Regions from separate parts of the Homo sapiens genome. Here region 1 is linked to region 2. The links are contacts of gene promoters, found by promoter capture Hi-C in human tissues and cell types (Jung and others, 2019). All regions are on one chromosome and are shown on one strand. Each heading gives the region's core, a stretch centred on a gene start or on the middle of the fragment in contact. The rest is flanking DNA. Distances are from core to core; before and after follow the strand shown.

Region 1 (7,067 bases), core at 3,839-6,338, 690 kb before region 2:
TCCTTGCTTGATACATGAAGTTTAGACAAATTAAGGCACTTGTCCCCAGTTCAGAGCTAGGACTAGGGTGAGACAAATGAGACACTTAGGGTGCAGACTTTCAGGATGTGCCCGTTCTCACATTGGTGCAGTGCACCTGGGAATGGGCACCTCCTTAAACCAAGCACCCTAAGCTTGTCACTTGCTTCACTCTATCCCTGCCCTGCCATGATCACACAACTAGAAAGAAAATGGCCAAGTAATTTTTTAGATCAGGTCCAAAGTTCATGTTCTTGACCACTTTGTTAGGAACCAGCACAGGCATTCACACCCAGCTTTCTGGAGAATAAATTCGATAACTAATGAGTATCTACCAATGCTGGGCACAGGGCTGAGTGTGCAGGACACACAGAAATGAAAAAGACAGTCCTTGTCTTCAAGACTAAAATGCTAGTGCACTGTGAAACACTGACATCCTACCCATGCTGGAGGGAAGGATGGAAGGAAGGAAGGAAGGAAGGAGGGAAGGAAGGAAGGAAAGAAGGAAGGAAGGAAGGGGAGGGAGGGAGGGAGGAGGGAAAGGAGGAAGGAGGAAGGAAGGAAGGAGGGAAGGAAGGAGAAGAAGGAAGGGAGGAAGGGAGGAAGGAAGGAAGAAAGGGAGGAAGGAGAGGGAGGGAGGGAGGGAAGAAGGAAGGGAGGGAGGAGGGAAAGGAAGAAGGAGGAAGGATGGAAAGAAGCAAGGAGAAGGAATGAAGAAGGGAAGGAAGGAGAGGGAGGGAGGAGGAAAGGAAGGAAGGAAGAAGGAAGGGAGAGAAACAGGGAGGGAGGGAAGAAGGAAGGGAGGGAGGGAGCAAGGGGGAAGGAAGGAAGGGAGGGAGAGAGGGAGGCAGGAAGGCAAGAAGGCTGGTCCATGCATTGCTGTGTATTGCATCTCAGTGTTGTCTGGCTCTAGTGCCAGCAGGCCTTGTGAAAAGGGCCCTTACTCTCTCTCAGATTCATTCTCCACATCTGCAAATAAGAATGATGGTGCCTGTGCTATCCACATCACAAAGTCACAGTAAAAACAAGTATCAAAAGGAGATGATCACTTTGCTTTGTGGCACTATAAAGCAGAGAACATCTGTGAGCTACTTTTATAAGGAATACCCCATGTCATTTGCAGAACATTGAATGGGGAGTTGGGATCCCTGGGTTCTAATTTCTGGGTTGCCTTTTATTGGCAGTATGACCTCACAAAGGACTCTTCTCCTTGCAAGATCTTGCTTCCTCATTCATTAAATGGGAAAATTGGAATAAAAAATGACTCTAAGACTTCATAATTGTGACTGAAGTATTGAGGGTAATGTTTAGCAAAAGCATGTAAAATTATTCATAGCTCTGTCTTATTTTACGTAGATCAGTACACATTAATAATATTGGCTTTAGAGAACTGCATGCAGTGTATGGTGCTGGAGCCCAGGGAAAGTAAAGCAAGGGCATGTGAGTTAGCTTGTGCAGAGCCATCAGCATCCATAAAGGAATAAAGCAAAGTTCTCATCCTAACCTAAAATGAGAGTTTGAATATGCATGGAACAGCTAGATCGTGTTTAGAAGTCACATCCATAAACATGGAGATGGAAACAAGAACATATATCTCCTAGCTGATTCTCCATGCATTGATTTCAACTTTCCATTTCACTCCTCCTACTATCCTTTACCCATTCATTTTCAATAGTGTGCATTCCTAGTCAGTGGGTGGTAAGAAGGAGTATGGAAGTAAATACCTTCTAAGTAGATCTGAAGGACTTACTAGTTGCTTACTAATTCACTAATTCTATGAAGAAATTATCTGCAGCTCTGAAGAGGTATACATTATCCACTGAGACCATTGTCTATTAAGATTGGCATTGCCTTTGGAGTCAGGGTACAGGAATTAAAAGGAATAGCACCTCCTCCCACAACCCACCCTATTCCTAGAACTCTGCATCAGACCCCGGAGTAAATTGAAAGAACTATATTCCTTTAGTAAATACTTACTGAATGTTTTCTACAGACACTATGTCAGGAGATATGTAATCTGCCATAATTCTGATTGCAAAAATCCCCCATGCAATTTTGATTACAAAAATAGAATCCGAAACAGAGCCTTCCTCCATAAATCTATTGCCTGTGCAGCTAGGAATAGTTACAGAGACTTCCAGTAACTCAAAAGTTAATGCAAAGGAGACTAAGGATGTGCCCAAACTAGAAGAGATGAGAGGAGACAGGGGTCTAGATATGACTGACAAGTCTTTATCAAAGGTCATGGAAATGAATCTATCCCAAAGGACCTATGCTTTAATAATAAATAGTAAAAAAGATGTATGATTGAGAATTTACTTTGAAAAATGAATCTATGTAAGTTAATGTCATCCTCTAATGAAATTTAGGATAAAATATTACATGCTATAATTTATAGAACACAAAATAATTTTCACTAAAAATAATTTTGCAACAAATATTATGATAGCACAATGCAATATCCTTGACATCATGCATGACTTCTGCAGCATGATCCAAAAGAGAATCGCATTTGCTAAATTTTTTGAGAACCCCCTCCATTTTCCTAATACCAATACTTTGATATTGAAATTATTTCCATGGAAGCATCTATCTTATCATTATCCTTGCCAATTCTTTTTTTCCTTCTCAGTTACAAATGAATCTCTTTCAGAAGCTCATGATTCACTAGTTTTGCAGTTCTCCCCCATCATTTTCACTAACTTCAAGAAACCATGCATTCTTCACCAGATTTGCTCTTTCCCTTTGCAATTGATTTTAATTGTGTTGTCAGGTAACATTAGACACGAATGAGAAACCGATCTTCAAAGACAGGATAGGCCTGAAGAGGCAGTAGTGTAAGGAAGTGAGAGAGATGATGACTAATTTTATAAGCAGTAGGTTCATGTGTCACATGTTGATATTACAATGATTGTTTGCCTCTCTAAACACCACCATAAAGGTGGAGGTTTGGATAATGAAGAGCTTCTGTTCGTGGTAATAAGGTAACATTCTAAAGTAAACTGAATATCAAACACTTTAATTTACTAATTCAATCTTGAAAGACATGATCTCCAAATACAAACTGTGCTTTTTGTTGCTGTTGTATTGGGGTAAGTTTTGGAGGCAGTAGTTTAGATGATATAAAATATTTGCCCTTAAAGCTAAATTGACCTACTTTATAAACTGCTGAGACTATGTGTTTCTAGATAATACATGTGTATGTATGTAAATACATATATACATAAATATATTTACATATAGGCACAGATAAACGTGTGTGTCCATACATATGCCAACATGTGTTAATTTGTAATTATATTTAGGTTATTTAAAGTAAATGCAAACAACAATTCAAGCTTTATTATTGGTCTTATGTGTGTTTCTACAAGCAACCATCCCAAACTGGTTAAATTTTCTATTGACACTGATTTGCCCATCTTTTGGCAATGCACTAATTTCCATGAACTCTTAATGAGATATACAATGAGATTTAAAATTTTAAACTATATGCCGGGCACGGTGGCTCACGCCTGTAATCCCAGCACTTTGGGAGGCCGAGGTGGGTGGATCACAAGGTCAGAAGATCGAGACCATCCTGGCTAACATGGTGAAACCTTGTCTCTACTAAAAATACAAAAAATTAGCTGGGCAAGGGTGGCAGGCACCTGTAGTCCCAGCTACTCGGGAGGCTGAGGTAAGAGAATGGCATGAACCCAGGAGGCAGAGCTTGCAGTGAGCCGAGATCACACCACTGCACTCCAGCCTGGGCGACAGAGCGAGACTCTGTCCCGGAAAAAAAAAAAAAAAAAATTTAAACTATAGTAAGTAATCATTTTTGGCAGTTGCTTACACTCATTTGGACCCAACTTTAAAATGAAGAAGTGGTTTTTCTTACGTATTTGTATTGCAAATTGATGATCATAATGAAAATAGACATATTTTCAACTCATTTCATTAGCATTACCCCTCAATACATACCATTTATGACAGAAATCATCTGTGAGAAGCTCATTATGCCAGCATGGATTGTTTTTCTGGTTTTGATTCACATTCAGATCCATCACCTAAGTTTCTTATTTATCTTGGCATATGCTTTCCTGGCAGTGGCTGCTAAAATGCACACACAGCAGATGTCATTTGTATTTTATATACAATCGAATATCTCATAAGAAATGTGCAATGCAAACTTCAAGAACAAACATCTCCCAACAACTCCAACAACTTTATCACCTTTCTGTTGAGGGCTCAACTGACTTGTTGATTCAACATGGTTATGTTGTGATATTAGCTATAGGTTCAAAGTAAATTTTTTTCTGCCATCTTTTTCCTCTAGGTTATGAATATATTGGTCATCTAGGTCAGCAAGTCTTAATATTTTGGACCCTGTTCATCATCTCGTTAAACCTAAGAACACTCTTTCATATGACATACACACAAAAAGTTGGATAAAATTTTAATAACTTAATGTCTTTCTAAGGTACGAAACTGTTCTAAGAGAATACCTTCTATATCATATAGCAATTGTGAAGATTATATTAGATGATGTGCATAAAACTTCTAGCCCATAGAGTGGGATTTAACAGATTTGCAATAAATATTGGTACATTTTCCCCATTCCTCTTGTTATTCAGAATTCATATCTTATTTCAAAGGTCCTGGATTTGGCTGGTGACTAAATGCAATTCCACTAGTAAAACTTAAAAATAGTTTCCCATCTTGCAATTTACACTGATATTACAGAAAGCCCAGAATTCAACTCCAAAGGTGAGTAACATGAAGTATCAGAGAACAAAATGGCCTGGGAGCTCCCATTTCTCTGCTCCCCCAAAAGCAGTCTCCCATTTCCCTGCAACCCAAAGCAGAAATAGGAAAAAAAAATTTCAGGGGCCTGTCTCTCGTGTATCTTCAAACTCTGCCACTCCACTTTCCATCCTAACATGAACCCTGCCTGGCCCTCAAGCCATTATCACCTATCTCTTTTCCTTTCTTCACTAATATCTCTGAAAATAGTCTATATTCCGTCTTCCACGTTCTTCCTTTAAATTCACATGCCATCCCCTCTGCAGTGTGGCTTTTGCCTTTACCTTGCTACTGAAGCTTCTTTGGTTATGTCCCCTCTGAACTCCTAAATGCTGCCTCTCAGACCCCTTACTACTAGATAGAACTCTGTGCAGCTAATGGCCCAATGCCCTGACTTCTTCCTCGTCTAGAATTATGGCTACCATTGATGCCTTCATTCTTTCCAGTGTCTCTCTTGGATCTTCTCCACCATTTGGGTTTTACATTTTTTCCCTTTGACTCTTGTCTTTTCTCTCAGCCCTTTGTTTACATTTCCTAAGATTTTTGTCTTAGATGCTCTTCTCTTCTGGTTACATACCCTCTCTGGGGAATCTAGTCAATTCCCATGGCTTCAGTTCTACCCTGTTAACCAATGACTTCCAAATCTATAACTTGATTCCTCACATGAATTCTAGATCCATATCTATGTTTGGATACCCTACAGTTACTTCGAATTCCTTTTTCTCCCAACTTGTGTTACTTGTCCACGGTCCAGGCTCCACCTGCTCCACCCTGTCTCACAACATCAACATTCACCAAACCTCCTGACTCATATCCTTGTCCCCATAGAAAGCTGCCCATCAAGTCCTGAAGATTCCGCCTTTGTAGCATTTCTGGCTTTGGCAGCTTCTCCATCACAATCTGGTATGGACCCTCATTCCTCCCAACAGGATTTATAGAGTGACTTTCTCTTCTGATTCTCTGTTTACAAATCCGTCTTACAAATATCTAGCAGAGGCTATGCTCCAGCAGAGCTGATCATGAGCTCACAGTACTTACAGACAAAAGACCAATCTCTTTTGTGCAGCATTTAATCCCTACATGCGCTGGTCCTGGTCCTGCCTGGCCTCATCTTTGAAGTCACCAAGTCTTTTCATGCCTCTGTGCCTTTGTTTAGCTCTCATTTCTGCCAGCTCCTGCAAGCCTTAGTTAAATCTAGTCAATTGCTTAGGATCCAGCTCAGATGTCACCTTCTCTGTAAAGATTTATTTCACTTTTCCGCAAGCAATACAGTAATCACAACTTTGCTAATGCTGCTGGCATAGCACATATCACCCTGGGTCATCATGTGCAGTTATTCAGATTGTTTGCTGAACAAGGACACCTAGCCTAGAGGGCAAGGGTCTAAAATCCAGGCGAGTGGCAGAAGGGAGCATCTATTTTTCTAATTCACATAAAGGTGCAATATAGAGTATGGTGACCCAGTACTTCAAAAGGGACTTTAGTTTAGTGCTCCCTGAGGACATCTGCCTCTCTAGACTATAAACTCTTTGGGGCTAGGTCTTCTTTGTCTTTATATCTTCAATGTCTAGCACACTTTCTTGCATGGGCTTGCAAAGATGATCAGTTTTGGAAGATTAACAACAACAACAATAATACTGTATAAGCATTAAAAAAATCTCTTATATTGTAGGAACAACTCTAAGTGCTTTGCATGGATCATCTCAGTTGCCACATTAAGCCTATCAAGAAGGTACTATTAGTATTCCCATTTTGTGGATTATAAAACTGGTGCTTGAGGAAACTCAGTTATTTGCTTAAAGTCACACGGCCAGGATTTGAATCCAAGTCTGTTTAATTCCAGAATCTGGGCCCTTAAACACTATAGCAAACAGCATAGGTACCATGCATGCATACACCAAAAAAGAATTCACATGCCCGTGATGACAATGCCTGGGGCTCAGGACCATTTGAGAATCTAAAGTGTTTTTATAGAATGCAGTCTGCTGAAGAGCAAACCCAGAGGCATCCTGATGTCCACCTATAAAAAGATAGACATAACCTTTCTGCACAGGAACAGGGCGAGCTCAGCCCCTGCTGTCTCATGAGAGTCTAAGAGGAATTATCCTCCCGGCAGGTTAGCACTGCACAGAGTTAAGAGGGCTGCACCTCCGATTGCTGACCGTGGGTGTCTCTTGCTCTGCCACCAGCATTGTTTCTCTCTCACCTGTTTTGAATGGCAGCCAGGTTGTCAGCTCACATTCAATTTCTGGCATAGCCACTCTGAA
Region 2 (6,810 bases), core at 2,337-4,836:
CCTGTAGTTCAAAACTGCTGTATTTGCTTCTTCTCTTTCAGGTTTCATTTCCAGGGACCCTGTGGAACGACTCTTCCTGAAGCCCTTGCCTGTCATGAAAATGAAACTGTTTCTTAAGTGTCCTGGGGAAGAAAGAAATTACAGTATATCTAAGAACTAGGCCACACGCAGAGGAGAAATGGTCTTATGGGTGGTGAGCTGAGTACTGAACAATCTAAAAATAGCCTCTGATTCCCTCGCTGGAATCCAACCTGTTGATAAGTGATGGGGGTTTAGAAGTAGCAAAGAGCACCCACATTCAAAAGTCACAGAACTGGAAAGTTAATTCATATTATTTGGTTTGAACTGAAACGTGAGGTATCTTTGATGTGTATGGTTGGTTATTGGGAGGGAAAAATTTTGTAAATTAGATTGTCTAAAAAAAATAGTTATTCTGATTATATTTTTGTTATCTGGGCAAAGTAGAAGTCAAGGGGTAAAAACCCTACTATTCTGATTTTTGCACAAGTTTTAGTGGAAAATAAAATCACACTCTACAGTAGGTAATTTATTGTATAAAGACATTACCCCACGATATGGCTTTATTAGGGACTTTTTTTTTTTTTTTTTGAGACAGAGTTTCACTCTTGTTGCCCAGGCTGGAGTGCAGTGGTGCGATCTCAGCTCACAGCAACCTCCGCCTCCCGGGTTCAAGAGATTCTCCTGCCTCAGCCTCATGAGTAGCTGGGATTACAGGTATGTACCACCACACCCAGCTAATTTTGTATTTTTAGTAGAGACGGGGTTTCTCCATGTTGGTCAGGCTGGTCTTAAACTCTCGACCTCAGGTGATCTGCCCGCCTCGGCCTCCCAAAGTGCTGAGATTACGGGCATGAGCCACCGCACCCGGCTTACTGGGGGCTTTTTAACCTTGTTTGGCTACATTACCTCAGTGAACAAGGGGAAGCTCACAACAGGAACTCACACAAAGAAGGAAGAGAACAGTACCAACAAGGTAGAACATCACGATGAGAAGAAAGAATGATGCAAATATGTGGACCCCCAGGATAAACACAGCTGCCCAAAATTTAGCTCTGGCCCCCTTAGATGGGGGAAGTCAACAGTGAAGTGTTTCTCAGCATCATAAAGGCAGAAGCTGTGGTTCCTGTGGGGCCTGCCAACCGTTCCCAGATGCTGAACTCTGCTGGGAGTTTTTTCCATGGGACTTTAAAAAATGATGCCCTTAGGTTGGGCCAGACCTCTGTTAACTTCAGTAGGGATGGCACCAGGTTCAAGAGGCCAAAGAAGAGACCTGGAGCTAGTGAAGGAAACATAGGGTTTATTTGGGGAACCTTACAGGGTGGTCCAGTGGCCGCGGGCTGGACAGAACTGCAACCACTTATAAAAAGCATGCAGTTTACATAGCACTTTCACTCAGCACCCTCCCCTCAGCAGCCTCCACGTGGCAACCCTCACTTCTTAAGTTATTGCTGTCAGATGCATCTGCCATACAGGGTCATTCTCAGGGGATGCTTAAGTTATTTCTGTCAGGTACATCTTCCATACACTTTACTACCTTGGAGTAAAGTAGTAAGAATACAGCTTTTTCCTTAACCTTTACCAGCTAACTCAGTGCTTAGGGGCCTTGGAATGCCTGCTGTCCAGCAGGTGTCACAGGCCTGACTGGGAGGCATGGCCATTATCAACAGTGTATGAAGGTCACATATGGCTCCCTGAAGTGATTACATACTTGGACCACATCACCTCAGCCCCTTGCAAAATTGCATTTAATGTTACACCCTTGGCTTTTGTAGAAACAGGCAACAAGACACTATCATATAAAACTTTGTACTGCATTGCAAGGCATAACCTTTAATAAATCCCAGTGGTCCTTTGTGTAGGGAACGGGGATGCTCATAGCCTATGGGGCGGCTGGAGAACCAGTCAGGGACCCTGAGGGCTCGATGTACACTTTACATGGGTGGGCCAAGGAGTTTACACTGAGGGCACTGGTAATACCTGTAATAGTCTTATAGTACTTATAAAGCAGTTTTGCACATAAAATACCATCATGCACTTATAAGTTTGTTCTTGGGCTGCTCCAAGTTAACTTTATTCATTTTCCTAGTGTTAGTGTCTCAGGGAGTCTGATTATATTTTTGATTTGTAATTTCTATCTGACTAAGGCCTAGAGATTTCAAAACTGTTCTTTGCAATTCCTCTCATACTGAACCTCTGGTTCAGCAGCTTTTTTTGTTGTTGTTGTTTTCAAGTTTTATCATTTTTGTTCCTATTTGGTTTTGTCGTTTTTAAATTGAGAATTGCTTCTAAAACAGAAGACATGAAAAGAGAATTAAAAATACAATATATGTGTAAGATAGAATTATTCAACTTAGCATTTATTAAACATCTACCAGATGATAGACATTAGAAATAAAATGACTAGCAAGACCTGGCCCTTCCCCTCAGGGGTTCACAGAATGGCTGGAGCAACTGTCATATAAGCTGTTATGAAGTGCAGAAACTACACAGACATTTGTGCGGGTTCAGACCAGCGCAATTAGAGATGGGCAGAGTGGGATGGGGTAGGGGTAAGGTGCTTGAAATTTGCCTGGGTGGGAATTTTTGAAGTATAAAAAGGACTTCTACCTGGGGGGCTGCGGCAGTAGAGGGAAGAGCACGGTCGGTACAAATGCATGGCAGGTGTGAAACAGTTTGATTTGTTCAAAGAATGATGAATCACTTAGTGTTGTATAATGGATGGGAGGAGAGAAACACAGCGATCACAAAGGGCCATGTTTGCCAAGAAATAAAATATACTTGGAAAAAAAGTACGTATGTGTATATACCACAAAACTCGGGTGCATTCTCTAGGGACCGGCGAAGCCATTCTTTCAGGAGATATGCTCAGCATTTGCCACGGGCCAGCTGCTGTTCCAGGTCGTGGGTTAGGGCCCGGCACCAGGAAGGGCGCCCCTCCCACAGGGCCGACATCCTAACCGGCGTCGCTGCGGCCGCGGAGCTGGGAAGGCCGAGGGCGCCGGGCACGTCTGTGCAGATTTCTTTAGAGTCCAGGTCTGTCGCCCGCGTCTTCGTCGGTGGCAGCAGGGCTGACTGGCCACGGCGGCCATCTGCTAGAGCGCATTTCTTCCCATGAAACGCCACCTCCTCCGAAGTGCGGAGCGAACGCAGCCAAATCTACACAAAGACTGACAAGCTGGATCCACTCGACGGAACCCAGGGCCAAAAAACGGCGGCGAGCAGCGCCTCGGGCCCGCGATTACCGGTTTTCTGAGCACCGGACAGCGTGAGCCGTGCCAGCCCTGTCTCGCCATCCCAGCCGAGGAGGGCAGCGCGATGGCTCTTCCCTGCCTTGAAATCAACCCCATTGCCAGCCGCTTTCGCCGGCAGAGCATTTTCCGTGGGGTCCATCCGGCTCCAAGGCGGCCTGCGCTGGCCACGTGGAAAGAAACACGCCCACTGCCTACAGGCCACGCCCTTCCTCCCTTCGCGCATGCGCCCCACCCGTCCTGAGGACCTCCGAACCTGCAGGGGGCGATGAAAGTAGGCTTGCGCTCCGCTTGTAGCTGCTTCCGGGTCAGAGGTCAGACGGTCTAGCGCTGCGTGGGCCATGGTGCAGCTCCGACCGCGAGCGTCTCGCGCCCCGGCGTCGGCGGAGGCGATGGTGGACGAGGGCCAGCTGGCCTCGGAGGAGGAGGAGGCGGAGCACGGGCTGTTGCTCGGGCAGCCCAGCAGCGGCGCGGCCGCCGAGCCCCTGGAGGAAGACGAGGAAGGGGACGATGAGTTTGACGATGAGGCCCCGGAGGAGCTGACTTTCGCCAGCGCCCAGGCGGAAGCGAGAGAAGAGGAGCGGCGAGTGCGGGAGACCGTGCGCAGGTTCGGAGCCCGCTGCCCGGCGGGGAGAACCGCCCTTTCTCGTCCCGCTTGTCCTTCCCTTTGCTGACTTATCACCCTTCCTCCCAGGGATAAAACGCTCCTGAAGGAGAAGAGGAAGCGACGCGAGGAGCTGTTCATCGAACAGAAGGTTAGAGGCTAGGGAGGAGGTGTCTTATTAAAACAACTCGGCTCAGGGAGAATTCCTATGGTGGATGTAATTTGGGTTGGCAGGATATTGGAGTGGGGAAACAGTCACCAAGATTGCCTCTGACAGTGGTGGAAAGATGCTCGGGCCGGGCGCGGCAGTACTTTAGTTGGACGAGGTGGGCGGAGCCCGGGATGTCGAGGCTGCCTGGAGCCGAGATCACACCACTGCGCTCCAGCCTGGGCGACAGAGCGAGACCCTGTCTCAAAAAAAAAAAGTTCGTCTCCTTTAGTGTCCACCAACTGAAAATAAGAGGTTGCTGTGAGAATTAAATGAGGTGATTTGTAAACTGTAAGGGCTGTACAGACTTAGTGTATGGTTGCTTTGCTGTCTGATACTCGACACAGAGAGCTGGCTCCAGGCAGACATTACTTAACTGCTTTCAATTTATAACAGTGACCTGAGGGTTAGAATACCGTGGGCACCCTTTCTAGTTTTCATCAAGTCTTTCAGAGAATGTGGAGTTTTGTGGACCCGGTCTTCCCATAGCTTAGAGGTATGGGGGCAGTTTCCAGCCTAATTCATTTCTTTGCCTAGATGTAGGGCATTCTTAAAAGCGGTAACTTCAGAAGCAACTCCGGACATACTATGTACATGACTTTCTATTAATTTTAAACGTTTTCATTCCAAAAGAAAAGAAAACTCCTTCCAGACACTATTTTGGAGAAGTTAACCACAGCTTCACAGACTAAGTAAGTAATGGATCTTTTTATATTACTTGCTTATATACACCCATCTTTGAATTATATACTGGTACATTTATTTGAATCCATATAACTGAAGGAATTGTAGAACCCAAATTCAAAAGCTACCTTGGTATATGAATTTGATGGGAAAGACGGAGGTAACGTTCTACTTCTTATTTTACCATTTATTTTTGTTCATTCCCATAGCTAGCTTTTGAATTCCTGATCCCATTGTGTTCATTCAGTACATTTTGTTGACTGCCTGTCATTGTACTAGGGCATAGTGGGTGGTGGTGAATAAAAAGTGTTTTGAATCATTTAGTGGGGTAGCAGGCACTTATCCACAGGCTCTGAAAACTTGATTTGTCCCATACTTGCCTTACCTGCCACCAACCTGTCCTTCCTGTTCCCCACTTCATTTAGCATCTTTGGTGTTTTATGGTTTAAAGCGAAAAGCTATAGTCGTCTTTGGGAATTGATCAAACCCTACTAAATTTAGCCTTCTAAATTTTTTTTTTTCTATCCTCTTTTTCTCCCCTTAAGGCTTTAAATTCAGAAATTCAGCCCCCTTTTGCTTAGGCCAGTGACTCTCAAGTTTTCAGTAAAAAAACTTTACCAAAGAGTTACTCAGATCCTGAATACATTAAACGTAAGAGCAAATCTATTTGGTGGCAAATTCCCTTTCATCTTTTAAAACCAAGCTCAAGTGTCACCTTTACCTTCTCATTTGCCCCCCCCCACCTCCCATCACTTCCGCTTTTGTGTGGCCTTTCTCCTGTGCAAATGCTTCTGTATTGTATTCTGTCCATTTACATTTCTCTCTCCATTGGGCCACAGCCCCCTTGAGGCTGTTCCCTGTCTCCTGTGCCTAAACTATTAAATTAATCCTTTGTGATTTCTCCAAATGAAATGAGGCAGACCTACTCCCATTCACTTCATATTTCAAATACTTTATAACTTGTTCTGAACAAGTGTTTCACTTGAACTCCATTGCCCACAGCATTTTGCTGCTTTGAAAGCCTGCTAATAGGCTCTCAGATTTTAACTGTGAAGATCTTCCAATGCTTGAGAGTTGGTGGCAGTGTACTAGGGAGTGACTATTGCTTTCCAAACTGATGAGAGCTCCTGAGTAGAAATTGAGGGTGTTGGTAATGAAAGGGGGTGTCTTACTTGTAAAGGCAAATGAAATAATATAACATGTTTTGAGTAATCTTTACTGCCATTGCAGTCAGTGGTTTTGTTTTTTTTCCTTAGCATCAAGAAATCGCCAGGAAAGGTGAAAGAAGGTATGACTATTCTAATTTAACTAACTTCTCATGTAAGTGTCAAGTGCACTTGCAGATGTTTCCAGTCAAATATGAATGGCCCTTAGAAAGCCAGCATGGGCCTGGCCAAGGTTAGCTGGGGCCTATTCCCTGTATTTCATACAAATAAAAACTGCATCCACATTGGTGTGTAGTGGATGCTTAAAGTGAACTCCAGTAAATTTCCTGATTTATTTTTACGTGAATGCTAATTAGAAAATGTAACTCTATTTTTTAGTTAATTTGCAAAAGAAAAATGAAGACTGTGAAAAAGGAAATGACTCCAAGAAAGTTAAAGTACAAAAAGTACAGTCTGTCAGGTAATGAGTCTTTTGTTTCATTTGGGATGTAAAGGAGACCTTTAAGAGAGTTAAAGTATTGGCTAACATGGGAAAATATTTTATTTTATTTTATTTTATTTTTATTTTTTTATTTTTTTGAGACGGAGTCTCGCTCTGTCGCCCAGGCCGGACTGCGGACTGCAGTGGCGCAATCTCGGCTCACTGCAAGCTCCGCTTCCCGGGTTCACGCCATTCTCCTGCCTCAGCCTCCCGAGTAGCTGGGACTACAGGCGCCCGCCACCGCGCCCGGCTAATTTTTTGTATTTTTAGTAGAGACGGGGTTTCACCTTGTTAGCCAGGATGGTCTCGATCTCCTGACCTCATGATCCACCCGCCTCGGCCTCCCAAAGTGCTGGGATTACAGGCGTGAGCCACCGCGCCCGGCCGGGAAAATATTT

What was found. Contacts are between HindIII fragments. The study calls those that stand out against the background at their distance.
Region 1: a contact is called between a fragment that was not itself captured here and the fragment with the promoter of NOL7 in region 2, in 1 of the 25 tissues and cell types used here (dorsolateral prefrontal cortex).

The regions. Positions count from the first base shown.
Region 1 is chr6:12,920,985-12,928,051 of GRCh38, forward strand. All of the region lies in intron 4 of PHACTR1 (phosphatase and actin regulator 1), which reads left to right. Among named protein-coding and RNA genes, the nearest start is that of PHACTR1, 210 kb to the left of the region's middle. The HindIII fragment of the contact is 6,648 bases long and covers 1,765-7,067 here.
Region 2 is chr6:13,611,749-13,618,558 of GRCh38, forward strand. NOL7 (nucleolar protein 7) reads left to right here and starts at 3,587. Exons shown (of 8, transcript NM_016167.5): 1 at 3,587-3,876; 2 at 3,964-4,024; 3 at 4,715-4,773; 4 at 6,022-6,053; 5 at 6,310-6,391. The coding sequence starts at 3,611. SIRT5 (sirtuin 5) reads left to right here. Exons shown (of 10, transcript NM_012241.5): 10 at 42-3,410. The coding sequence ends at 117. LOC124901263 (a long non-coding RNA gene) reads right to left here and starts at 3,454. Exons shown (of 2, transcript XR_007059461.1): 1 at 1-3,454. RefSeq lists an enhancer at 2,800-2,969. The HindIII fragment of the contact is 29,829 bases long and covers 1-6,810 here.